Linked DNA regions of Homo sapiens: regions 2, 3 and 4 are each linked to region 1. Evidence: promoter capture Hi-C in human tissues and cell types (Jung and others, 2019). All regions are on one chromosome and are shown on one strand. Each heading gives the region's core, a stretch centred on a gene start or on the middle of the fragment in contact. The rest is flanking DNA. Distances are from core to core; before and after follow the strand shown. Region 1 holds the start of RNASEH2A (ribonuclease H2 subunit A). Region 2 holds the start of ZNF491 (zinc finger protein 491). Region 3 holds the start of ZNF653 (zinc finger protein 653). Region 4 holds the start of ZNF441 (zinc finger protein 441).

The links. The method cuts DNA at HindIII sites, captures the fragments that hold promoters and counts their contacts. A contact is called where the count stands out against the background at its distance.
Region 2: a contact is called between the fragment with the promoter of ZNF491 here and the fragment with the promoter of RNASEH2A in region 1, in 1 of the 25 tissues and cell types used here (lymphoblastoid cells).
Region 3: a contact is called between the fragment with the promoter of ZNF653 here and the fragment with the promoter of RNASEH2A in region 1, in 1 of the 25 tissues and cell types used here (dorsolateral prefrontal cortex).
Region 4: a contact is called between the fragment with the promoter of ZNF441 here and the fragment with the promoter of RNASEH2A in region 1, in 1 of the 25 tissues and cell types used here (small bowel).

Annotation. Positions count from the first base shown.
Region 1 is chr19:12,805,179-12,807,878 of GRCh38, reverse strand. RNASEH2A (ribonuclease H2 subunit A) reads right to left here and starts at 1,295. Exons shown (of 8, transcript NM_006397.3): 1 at 1,079-1,295; 2 at 800-871; 3 at 550-673; 4 at 373-460. The coding sequence starts at 1,205. RefSeq lists enhancers at 1,192-1,241, 1,442-1,571 and a cis regulatory region at 1,016-2,048. The HindIII fragment of the contact is 8,217 bases long and covers 1-2,700 here.
Region 2 is chr19:11,797,203-11,799,902 of GRCh38, reverse strand. It overlaps ZNF491 (zinc finger protein 491), which reads right to left and starts at 1,380. Exons shown (of 3, transcript NM_152356.4): 1 at 1,176-1,380. RefSeq lists enhancers at 1,119-1,278, 1,289-1,388, 1,614-2,125 and a silencer at 2,219-2,388. The HindIII fragment of the contact is 4,685 bases long and covers 1-2,700 here.
Region 3 is chr19:11,504,436-11,507,135 of GRCh38, reverse strand. It overlaps ZNF653 (zinc finger protein 653), which reads left to right and starts at 1,297. Exons shown (of 9, transcript NM_138783.4): 1 at 1,297-1,648. The coding sequence starts at 1,350. ECSIT (ECSIT signaling integrator) reads left to right here. Exons shown (of 8, transcript NM_016581.5): 8 at 708-1,207. The coding sequence ends at 952. RefSeq lists silencers at 1,102-1,151, 1,312-1,981 and an enhancer at 2,132-2,201. The HindIII fragment of the contact is 10,042 bases long and covers 1-2,700 here.
Region 4 is chr19:11,765,687-11,768,386 of GRCh38, reverse strand. ZNF441 (zinc finger protein 441) reads right to left here and starts at 1,387. Exons shown (of 4, transcript NM_152355.3): 1 at 1,191-1,387. The coding sequence starts at 1,193. RefSeq lists silencers at 357-466, 917-1,056 and an enhancer at 1,127-1,226. The HindIII fragment of the contact is 15,674 bases long and covers 1-2,700 here.

The DNA.
Region 1 (2,700 bases), core at 46-2,545:
CTCACTGCAACTTCTGCCTCCTGGGTTCAAGCGATTCTCCTGTCTCAGCCTCCTGAGTAGCTAGGATTACAGGCGCCTGCCACCACGTCCAGCTAATTTTTGTATTTTTAGTAGAGACGGGGTTTCACCATGTTGGTCAGGCTGGTCTCGAACTCTTGACCTCCGGTGATCTACCCGCCGCGGCTTCCCAAAGTGCTGCGATTATAGGCGTGAGCCACTGCGCCCTGCCTCCATTTTTGAGTTGGGGGGCTTCCTTTGTCACCCAGGATGGAGTGCTGTGGCATGATCATGGCTCACTGCAGTCTCGAACTCCTGTTTTGTCCCCATTTTATCCTGAGATGACCAAATGGGGACAACTTACAGTTAACTCACCTGGGTGACGTTCACGCCCTGGTCCAATGCATACTGTATAAGCCCAGTGGCTGTATCATGTGACAGGGAGTTCAGGTTGTATTTGACCCTGTGGTGGGGAACAGAGCCCAGTTAATCTCATTCTAGGAACAAAGCTTGGTCAGCCCATGCTGGCTGCCCCTCCCGGGGACCCCTCACCGCCCAAGCATGCTGGTAGAGATGAGGTTTGGAGACAGCACATCCAGCGCCCAGCCGACAAAGTCCGTGTCCTCCATTTTCGCAAACAGCCTTTCCCGCTCGCTCTCCAATAGGGTCTTTGAGTCTGGGAGGAGGTTTGGAAGAGAAGGGGAACAGCTGGTTCTCCCAGTTCCTGCCCTCCCCTTTCAGTTCTCACCTGCCCCTGCACATACCCAGGAATCCCTTCCCCAGACGCACACCTCGGGCTCACCTGCCACTTTCAGCGCCTCCAGATCTGCCAGGCGAGGCAGGGGACAATAACAGATGGCGTAGACCATGGGGCCTGGGGAGAAGGGGTGTCAGTTTTCTGGCAGCCGGGGTCCAATCACTGAGCCCGTGAAAGTTGCCATTCATCCCTGTTCTATCATCACTGCTTCTTTAGGTGCCATCACCACGACCACATCCCCTCCCTTGGTGCAGTGCAATCCCGACTCCCGTTTCCCGCATCCTCCGTACCACGCCCCTCCCCTCCCTGGCCCTAGGGGCGCACCCAGCACGGGGCCCCTGCCCGCCTCATCGACGCCCAGGACGCAAGGCTCCTTGCGGCACACCGCGGGCACAGGCGAACTCAGGCGACAGCGGCCTGTATTGTCTCTCTCCAGCTCGCTGAGATCCATGCCGCCTCAGCCGCCACCACCAGCTGCAAGAACTAATACTGCAGGAGCGGGTCTCGGCGCGCGTTTTCCGCGGGCCTCGAAGCGGCGCCTGCTTCCGGCCAATCCGCGGGCAGAACACGCCCCTGGCGCTCCCGCCGCCGTGGACGCTTACGCAGCCGACGCCGACGTCGCTGCCGTGCGCCCTCCTGGGAATTGTAGTCCCGAAGGGCTATGGCCGAACACTCAGCTTGGGGAATTCGGTGGACGGGGTCACTTTGCAAGCTCTGCTTCACGGTCTCTGGGGCCCCGCCTGCGTGGCCCGGTGGGAAGAGGGGGAAATAAGAGGGAAACTGAGACGTAGCTTCGAAGACCCAGCCTAACGGGGAACTAGAGAGTCAAATATCACCCCACTCCCAGGACACGGGTCACCGCATCACTGGGTCCCCAACTGCCACTTGGATTCAGGCCCTGTACTTGCGGTCCCTGCTTCTGTACACATTCTAAGTCCCCTGGACCAGGTAGCCCCGCTTCCACTAAACCCAGGCTTTTGGATTTGGAGTCCCCAAACTCCCTCTCTTGGTTGCTCCCTTCGGCCCACCTCCACTCCGTGCAAGATCTGTGCTTCCTAACCTCTGTCTCATTCAGGCCAAGCCTTCCCCACCCCCGTTGGAGATCACAGACCTCGGTGGACTCCTGCTCAGGGTCTCTGCTCCCTATAGAAGCTCATTCCTCCCAACTTAGAATGAATGTCCCCACCCCCACCCCTCGACCCACTTTTTTTTTTTCTTTTTTTTTTTTTTGAGACAGAGTCTCGCTCTTGTCGCCCAGGCTGGAGTGCAATGGCGCCATCTCCGCTCACTGCAAGCTCCGCGTCCCGGGTTCACGCCATTCTCCTGCCTCAGTCTCCCGAATAGCTGGGACTACAGGCGCCCGCCACCACACCCGGCTAATTTTTTGTACTTTTTAGTAGAGATGGGGTTTCACCGTGTTAGCCAGGTTGGTCTCGATTTCCTGACCTTGTGATCCGCCCGCCTCGGCCTCCCAAAGTGTTGGGATTGCAGGCGTGAGCCACCGCACCCGGCCTTCTTTTTTTTTTAGACAGGGTCTCTCTCTGTTGTCCAGGCTGGAGTGCAGTGGCGCGATCTTGGCTCACTGCAACCTCCACCTCCTGGGCTGACGCGATCCTCCCACCTCAGTCTCCCAAGCAGCTGGACTACAGGTGCACACCACACCACCATGCCCGACTATTTTTGGTATTTTTTGTAGAGACGGGGTCTCATTATGTTGCCCAGGCTGGCTTCAAACTCCTGGGCTCAAGCGATCCGGTCGCCTCAGCCTCCCAAAGTGTTGGGATTACAAGCCTGAGCCAGCCACAGTGCCTGGCATCCACCACTTCTATTCCCTGGGCTCACTGGGGCTCATGTCCTCTGCCTGTGGGTTCCCGCCCCTTACCAGGCTCATGCCCCTTCCTCAGGGTCCTAGTTCATTGTCTCTTTATCTCCTTTTACTCCTCTTC
Region 2 (2,700 bases), core at 131-2,630, 1.0 Mb after region 1:
TGGAGTGCAGTGGCACCATCTCGGCTCACGCAACCTCCGCCTCCTGCGTTCAAGCGATTGTCTTGCCTCAGCCTCCCGAGTAGCCGGATTACAGGCACGTGCCACCACGCCCAGCTAATTTTTGTATTTTTGGTAGAGTCGGGGTTTCACCATGTTGGCCAGGATGGTCTCGAATTCCTGACCTCGTCATCCGCCCGCCTCGGCCTCCCAAAGTGCTGGGATTGTAGACGTGAGCCACCGCGCCCGGCCATACCCGACTAATTTTTTAAAATATTTTGTACAGACGGGGTCTCGCCATGTTGTCCACGCTGGCATCACCTTGCCTTACGCTGGAATGTTAAATATACTCTTTTAAATTGGAAAGGAAATGAAACCCAAATGTAAAGAAAAAAAAAAAAAAGCTCTATGGGGGCGGGGGGAGGGGGGCGGGCCAAACTCTGATTAAATTGTTGTGCCTCACAAACTAGCCTTGTATAAAAAACGTTGTAATCCTGTTAAATTTCTTGCCTATATAAGCAAGAACTTAAACTTTTAAATTTGAAACACTGAGCCCATTTCCGTGGATCCTGTGTTTTCCCAAATGGGCCATTCCCAGCTTCTTGCTTGAGTAAACTTTAAAAAACTGGAATCTGATTCTTTTATTTCAGGTTGACAAGTCCACATACGGCGACAGCATCACTGTAACTAATCAAGTATTTAATCCTGTTTGCCTCCTCATGCAACTTATAAAAGCCTTTTCTTCAATCACAAGCCATGACCGGGTGTTTCTCACTCGGAATCGCTGTTGCTCCAACAAACTCTTTAACTGTTAACAGAGCCTCAGTTTAATTTTTAGCAGAAGAAAGGCGGGACACATCCGACCCCCCATGACCCTCCCGTGGCCCCCGCACAATCTGGGAAGACGCCGGGCTGCGGGCGCGGAGCTGCCCAGAGAGGACTCCGGGGCCGGGGCCGCAGTCGCCGCGTAGGGACGGGACAGGACGCCCGGGGTCCCAGCTGCGGGCCCAGCCCCACCTGGCGGCCGAGCGGACCGAGGGCCAAGCCACGCCATGGGGGACGCGGGTCCCAATCGCCGGGGTCGCCCGAGCGGAGGCCTGGGTCCCGCCACAGCAGGATCCTGTTGGTTCCACCCAGCCCCTCTTCCACGTATCTGGACGCTAGGCCGGGCACTTTACCATTTCCCTGCTTCTTGGTGTCCCGGCGTCCTCTTTATGACTCCGGAGCAGGTCACAGCGCAGGTGACAGCGTCACAGGAGCCGTGGCGGAGGCACCTGGGGCCTCTCGGAGCAGCAAGGACTGGATGCAGAACGCAACGGACCCCAGCAACAAAGGAGTGCAGAGACTCTGAGTGCGGCCTTCTGCTTCCCCGGATTGACAGTTGGCAGGGCCCCGTCCCAGGGCCCCTGATTGGATGGGGTTCCAGGCTCCGCCCCTCAGCCCTGAGTGACAGGGTAAGCCCTGGGTAACGGAGCCCTGCAGAGCCCGGCTGATTAATCCTAGCTACAGCCTTTCTAAGGCTAAGCTCACTCCCTGCGCCCTGGTCGTTGGCTATCTGCATTTCAGCCAAACTTGCTACTTATTGTTAGAAGGGGCACTGTTAGCTTCCTCGATCTTTCAGAAATGTGTGCTGGGAATTCCAGACTCGGTGTTCAATGGAGTCATTCCTTTGCCTCATAGCAGGAAGGAAATCCAGGCCAGGCCAGGCCAGGCAAGACTGCACCAGGAGGGAGAGGCAGGTGTCCTCTACAGGGCGGGAATTGGGGATGAGACTTCCTCACACTCCCCCCGTCCCACCCCTGAATATGGAACCGCTTCCTCCCCCTAGACTTCATTTTCACCAGCAGAAGTTCTCACCTGGGGTCAGTTTAAGCTTCTAACCTAAGTAAACTATTACCTTCACAAACCCTTTCTCCAGGTGACATGTCAGACAAATCTTACTGAGCCTGATCTTCACAGATTATCTTTGTATGTACAAATTACAGTCTGTCGCCGGGACCCTTTGCACGTAAAAACCAAACACTGCCCCCGCAAAACGTCCCTAGGCTCTAGGTACAGCCCCAGTAAGGACAGAACCTCCCCCCAACCCCCCTACACAAAGTGCACCTGCACGTGAGTCTCCTGCTTTCCAGGGCTCTGTAGCTTCTCAGGATCCACATTCCTTCCGCAGCTGTTCTGAGCAGCTGGAGGCCACCTGCAGTAGAGGGCAGGCTGCCCGGGAAACACCCAGGGGAGCTCCCTTTCCCTCCCTTTGCCGGCTCCAGACTGGCCTCAGCAGGGTGTCACTGGCCTTAGGCTCTGCTGCCCCCTACAGGTTATTCACTTCATTGATCGGTTACCTGAGACAAACACCCTCAGTTCCACTGTACGTATGTATAAAGTGGGGAAGGAAAATTCTAAGATAATTGAAGTGAATTAAAAGACTTGCAGGCAGGGTGCGGGGGCTCACGCCTATAATCCCAACCCTTTTGGAGGCTGAAGCGGGAGGACTGCTTGAACCCAGGAGTTCATCATCCTGGAAAACGGAGCCACACCTCGTCTGTACTAAAAATTTAAAAATTAGCAGTGCGTGGTGTCCTGAACCTGTAGTCCCAGCTACTCGGGAGGCTGAGGTGGGAAGATCTTGAGCCCAGGAGTTTGAAGCTTCAGTGACCTATGATCTCGCCACTGTGCTTCAGCAAGAGTTGTGATAGTTGTATCAGA
Region 3 (2,700 bases), core at 48-2,547, 1.3 Mb after region 1:
GGGCTCCAGACCTGAGGTCACCCAGCCCTGTTGGCCCTTGTTCATTCCCTCCCTCCTACAACTCTGTGCTGGCTACTGGGTGTCACCAGGACAAACCTAGTCCCTCGAGTCAGCAAGGGAACAGGCAAATTACACTTTGGGGAGCTTAGGAGAGGAGCATGCCTTGAGTGGGGGGTCAGGAGGCCTTCCTGGCAGAATACAGAAAAACCAGGAGTCATCGCCCGGGTGAAGTGTGGAGTGGGCAGCCTAGGCAGCGGGGCTAGCTTGTGCAAAGGTTTGGAGGCACAAGAAAGTGGAAGGAAGCCGGGCACAGTGGCTCACGCCTGTAATCCCAGCACTCTGGGAGGCTGAGGCGGGTAGATCATTTGAGGTCAGGAATTCGAGACCAGCCTGGCCAACATGGTGAAACCCCATCTCTACTAAAAATTTAAAAATTAGCCCGGCGTGGTGCTGTGCACCTGTAATCCCAGCTCCTCGGGAGGCCGAGGCAGGAGAATCACTTGAACCTGGGAGGCGGATGTTGCAGTGAGCCGAGATCTCGCCACTGCACTCCAGCCTGGGTGACACAGCGAGACTCCGTCTCAAAAAAAAAAAAAAAAAAAAAAAGGAAGTGGAAGGGAGTGTAAAATACCTCAAAAAGGTGTAGGCATGGGTTAGCCGCTGCAGCCCCCACTGTGCAAACCTTAAGGGTGCATGTCTTCCAACAGTGGAGGAAGGCCCTGTCTTCGCCATGTGCATGGCGGGTGCTCATGACCAGGCGACGATGGCTAAGTGGATCCAGGGCCTGCAGGAGACCAACCCAACCCTGGCCCAGATCCCCGTGGTCTTCCGCCTCGCCGGGTCCACCCGGGAGCTCCAGACATCCTCTGCAGGGCTGGAGGAGCCGCCCCTGCCCGAGGACCACCAGGAAGAAGACGACAACCTGCAGCGACAGCAGCAGGGCCAGAGCTAGTCTGAGCCGGCGCGAGGGCACGGGCTGTGGCCCGAGGAGGCGGTGGACTGAAGGCATGAGATGCCCTTTGAGTGTACAGCAAATCAATGTTTTCCTGCTTGGGGCTCTCTTCCCTCATCTCTAGCAGTATGGCATCCCCTCCCCAGGATCTCGGGCTGCCAGCGATGGGCAGGCGAGACCCCTCCAGAATCTGCAGGCGCCTCTGGTTCTCCGAATTCAAATAAAAAGGGGCGGGAGCGCTGTTGGTTGTGCGCATGCGCAGTTTCCATTCTTGGTCTCCTTTTGGCGCCCTGGGGCAGCGAGAGACCGTGAGAAATTTCTCGGCGGCGCCGAAGATGCGCGCCACTTCCGGTCTGGCTCCTAACAACGGGGGAGGCTGGTAACCAGGGTGGGGGGGATGGCGGAGCGGGCGCTAGAGCCCGAGGCGGAGGCGGAGGCTGAGGCGGGCGCGGGCGGGGAGGCAGCAGCCGAGGAGGGCGCAGCGGGCCGAAAGGCGCGGGGCCGGCCGCGACTCACGGAGTCGGACCGGGCCCGGCGACGGCTCGAGTCCCGGAAGAAGTACGACGTGCGGCGCGTGTACCTGGGCGAGGCGCACGGGCCCTGGGTGGACCTGCGGCGCCGCAGCGGCTGGAGCGACGCCAAGCTCGCCGCCTACCTCATCTCTCTGGAGCGCGGCCAGCGGAGCGGCCGCCACGGGTGAGGGGGCCTGGCCCCGAGGGAGGGAGGGAGGAGACGCCCCCAGACCCCGCCGGGCTTTACCCCGCCCCCTCCGCTTCTAGGGCCAGCCCCCGGCACCTGCGGACCCCGCCCAGGAGCCGGGCCGGCGGCCTGGGTCTCGTACTGCCTGGCCGGGACGCGCCTGGCTCGTGGCCCCGCCTCCCATCGTTCCGACTGCCCAATCCTAGGGTGCACCCAGCCCCTCGACCCGCCTTCTGAGCGCTTGGCCCCGCCCGCTAGAACTCTGGCGGCCCAATCCTGGGACTGGCCCCACCTCCAGGCCTTGTAACTAACCAGGCCCTGGGGGGGCAGCCCCGCCCCCTCACCGGTCTCATCCTCCCCCGCTTAGTTCCCCACCTGGCCTGGGACTCTGGACACCCTGGGGCACTCAGCCCTGCCCTTCTTGAAGTTCTGGTGCCCCATCTGGGACTCCGTATGGCCCCATTCCCACAACCCTAGATCCAACACATCCGGGGGACCCTTCACAACCTGGACTGCACTCCCCTAAACCTATTTCTGTGAAGCAACTCAGCCCAGGGAGACTCGGATGAAGAGGAAACCCCTAGTTAGCTTGGCAGGTGGAGGGCAGAGAGGCCTGTCTTTGTAAATTCTCAGTCTTGAGAAGGAGCAGTGTGGATGGAGTTTTTCCCTTCCTGCCTTATATGTTGATGTGATGATTGAGTTAAAATAGGCAAAGAGCTTAGAAGAGTGCCTGGCAGGTAGTGGGTTCCCTAAGTATTAACTTTTACGAGGATGACGTTTATTCCGTATCACAAGCAGTGCCGCAAGGAAATCCTTGTTCTGCCCTGGTTTTCAGGTACACATGTTCTCATGTTTCTCTGGGGGGAGATTCTGAGAGTCAAGAATCAAACAGATCCTGCTAAGTTATACCCACCCCTTTCCCAGGACAGCAGGCTGGCTTATATGCTCAAGAGCAGGACTGGAAATGCTGGGAGCGCAAAGATACCTGCCTCATGGAGCGGACATTCTGGTGGGCAGAGGGGATGGCTTGTTCAAAGGTCTGGGGGGTT
Region 4 (2,700 bases), core at 138-2,637, 1.0 Mb after region 1:
GCGAAATGTCTGGTGGTTTTTCTCTGCTTCCTCTCATGTGAAATGTTCACAAACACAAAACCTTTTACAAAGAGCCATATATTGCTATGTATAAACAAAATGACAATTAAAATACTAGCCTCTGTTTGAAAAATAAACTGGGGGACAAGGAGTTCATAAAGTTGCTGTGAATTGAGGAGAGAAAGCCTGAGGAAGGCTCTGGAAGCCAAGGGATTTTCTGTCGGCCCTAGGAGGAGTTAGGATGAGAGAACACAGTGGTGGACTTGAGACCCTGCTGCCCACATCTTTGGAAGACTCGAAGGCGAACGGGTCACCCTTGGGAAGAAAGAAGGGACAGGGGACCACACAGACCACAACTCCTCCCACACACAAACCCCACACACGAGTCTGCCTGGTGACCTGTCATCACCGTGCAGCCTCCTCACCGGGTTCACAGAACTGCGAGCCAGGCTGGAGGCGAGATTGCAGTTAGATATTAACCAGGTGCCCTCAGCCCCGCTGCCTCGCGGGGCCGCCTCCCCAAGAGTCAGGCCACAGCAGATGCTGACCGCCGGCTTCGCCATTGTGCTTGGGGATGAGATCTCTGAGAGTTGCTCAAGAGTCGCCTGAGTTCTTTCTCAGATCCTGAATTCCAGCGGAAAGGCTGGCGCCAACCAGGCTGAAGACCCCACAAGGGAACCCACTCAGCAGAAGAATGCGGTTTCTTCACCTCCAGTCCCAAGAGTCACCCCTCACTTCCCCACCATCCAGCGACCCCACGCCCCAGCCGCCCCTGTCCACACCCCTAAACACCCCATCCCCAAACCTCTCAGGAAGGCGGATCTGGGGTGTCCTCCCCTCTCCCCCTATTAAACTGTTTCTGCTGCAGCCCTCGGCGTCTCGGTGCAGTGACTCGGGCCGCGAACCTGTGCCGGTTACAGCCGCACAATCTGGGGAGACGCAGGACTGCGGGCGCGGAGCTGCCCAGACAGGCCTCCAGGGCCAGGGCCGCAGTGGCCGCGCAGGGACGGGACAGGACGCCCGGGGTCCCGGCTGCCGCCCCAGCCCCATCGTGCGGCCGAGGGAACCGAGGGCCGAGCTGCGCCAGGGTGTCGCCGGCGGGGAAGACCTGGTGCCACCACAGCCGGTTCCGGCCGGTTCCAACCAGTCTCTCCTCTCACGCGTCGGGACACCAGACCTCACACACTCACCATTTCCCGGCTTCCGGCGTCCAGGTTCCTCCCTCTGCCTCCCGCTGTCAGTGCGGGTCCCAGCGAGACAGAAGCTGCCACAGACGTTCCAGGGCGTCTCTCAGTGACAGAACCCGGAGCCCAGTGCAGGGGCGTGGAGAAGACTCGGCGGGCTCTTTGAACCTTGCACCCTCCTCCGGTCAGTGCGCCTGATTGACAGTTCTCACGACCCCGCCCCGCGGCCCTGATTGGATAGTGCGCCAGGTCCCTCCCCCGGGCACTGAGTAACGGAAGAAGCGATCTCGGGCAGCGGAGTGGAACCTGATAAACAGATTCCAGACAGGCCTTGAGAGGACTAGCTTCCTCCCTGCGCTGTGACCTGACCCCCTCCCAGGGGACATTTGCATTTAGGCAGTATGTCCTGACCTTCCTCCTTTTTCCTCTTGGACAGGGACCCACAAGTCTGTGCAGGAAATTCCAGACTCACTGTCCAGTGGAGCTATCCCCTGATTTGAGAGCAGGAAGGGAGCCCAGGCCACACTGCAGCAGAAGGGAGGGGCTGATGTCCTCCAGGAATCAGGAGTTTTGGATGAGGCTGTTGGCTGCACAGGCCAAGCCTTTCTCCCACCTTATGTCTCAATCTACTAATTTTCAGTGCAGAATATAAAAACACCCCAACAAAGCCGGGCGTGGTGGCTCACACCTGTAATCCCAGCACTTTGGGAGGCTGAGGCAGGTGGATCACCTGAGGTCAGAAATTCGAGACCAGTCTGGCCAACATGGTGAAATCCCGTCTCTAAAATACAAAGATTAGCCGGATGTGGTGGCGCACGCCTGTAGTCCCAGCTACTCAGGAGGCTGAGACAGAGGAATCACTTGAACCTGGAAGGCAGAGGCTGCAGTGAGAGAGTGGGCGAGACAGAGGGAGACTCCGTCTCAAAAAAAAAAAAAAAGAAAAAAGAAAAAAGAAATAAATAAAATTGTTAAATGTGTGGAAAAACTGGAATTATATGGCGGCAATATTTTATAAAGCAAAAACTTGAACTAGCTCAGATAAGCAGCCTGCTGCATCCACACACAGTTCACAAGTCAACCACTTTCAGGAGGCCAAACATATTCCAAAGCTTGGAGGCCAGACGATAATTCCTGAAATGGAGCCCTAGGGTGGATCAGAACCTGGGGATGAGTCAGGGGCACTAATGGATTTAACTCTGGGAGTTCAATTTGCCCTCCTGTCTCCTAAACACAGCGTGGAAATGCTCCTTCCATCAAGCCTATAAATGTTATTGAATTAAATGCTTCAATCAAAGGCTGAGACATTAGACTTTGAATTTGAAAACATTCATCTTCATATTTTTATGAAGAATACCAGATATAAAAGCATTATGAGGCCAGGCACCGTGGCTCATGCCTGCAATCCCACCACTTTGGGAGGCTGAGGTGGGTGGATTGCTTGAGCTCAGGAGCTCAAGACCGGCCTGGGCAATGTGGTGAAACCCCCATCTCTATTTAAAAACAAACAAAAAAAAAG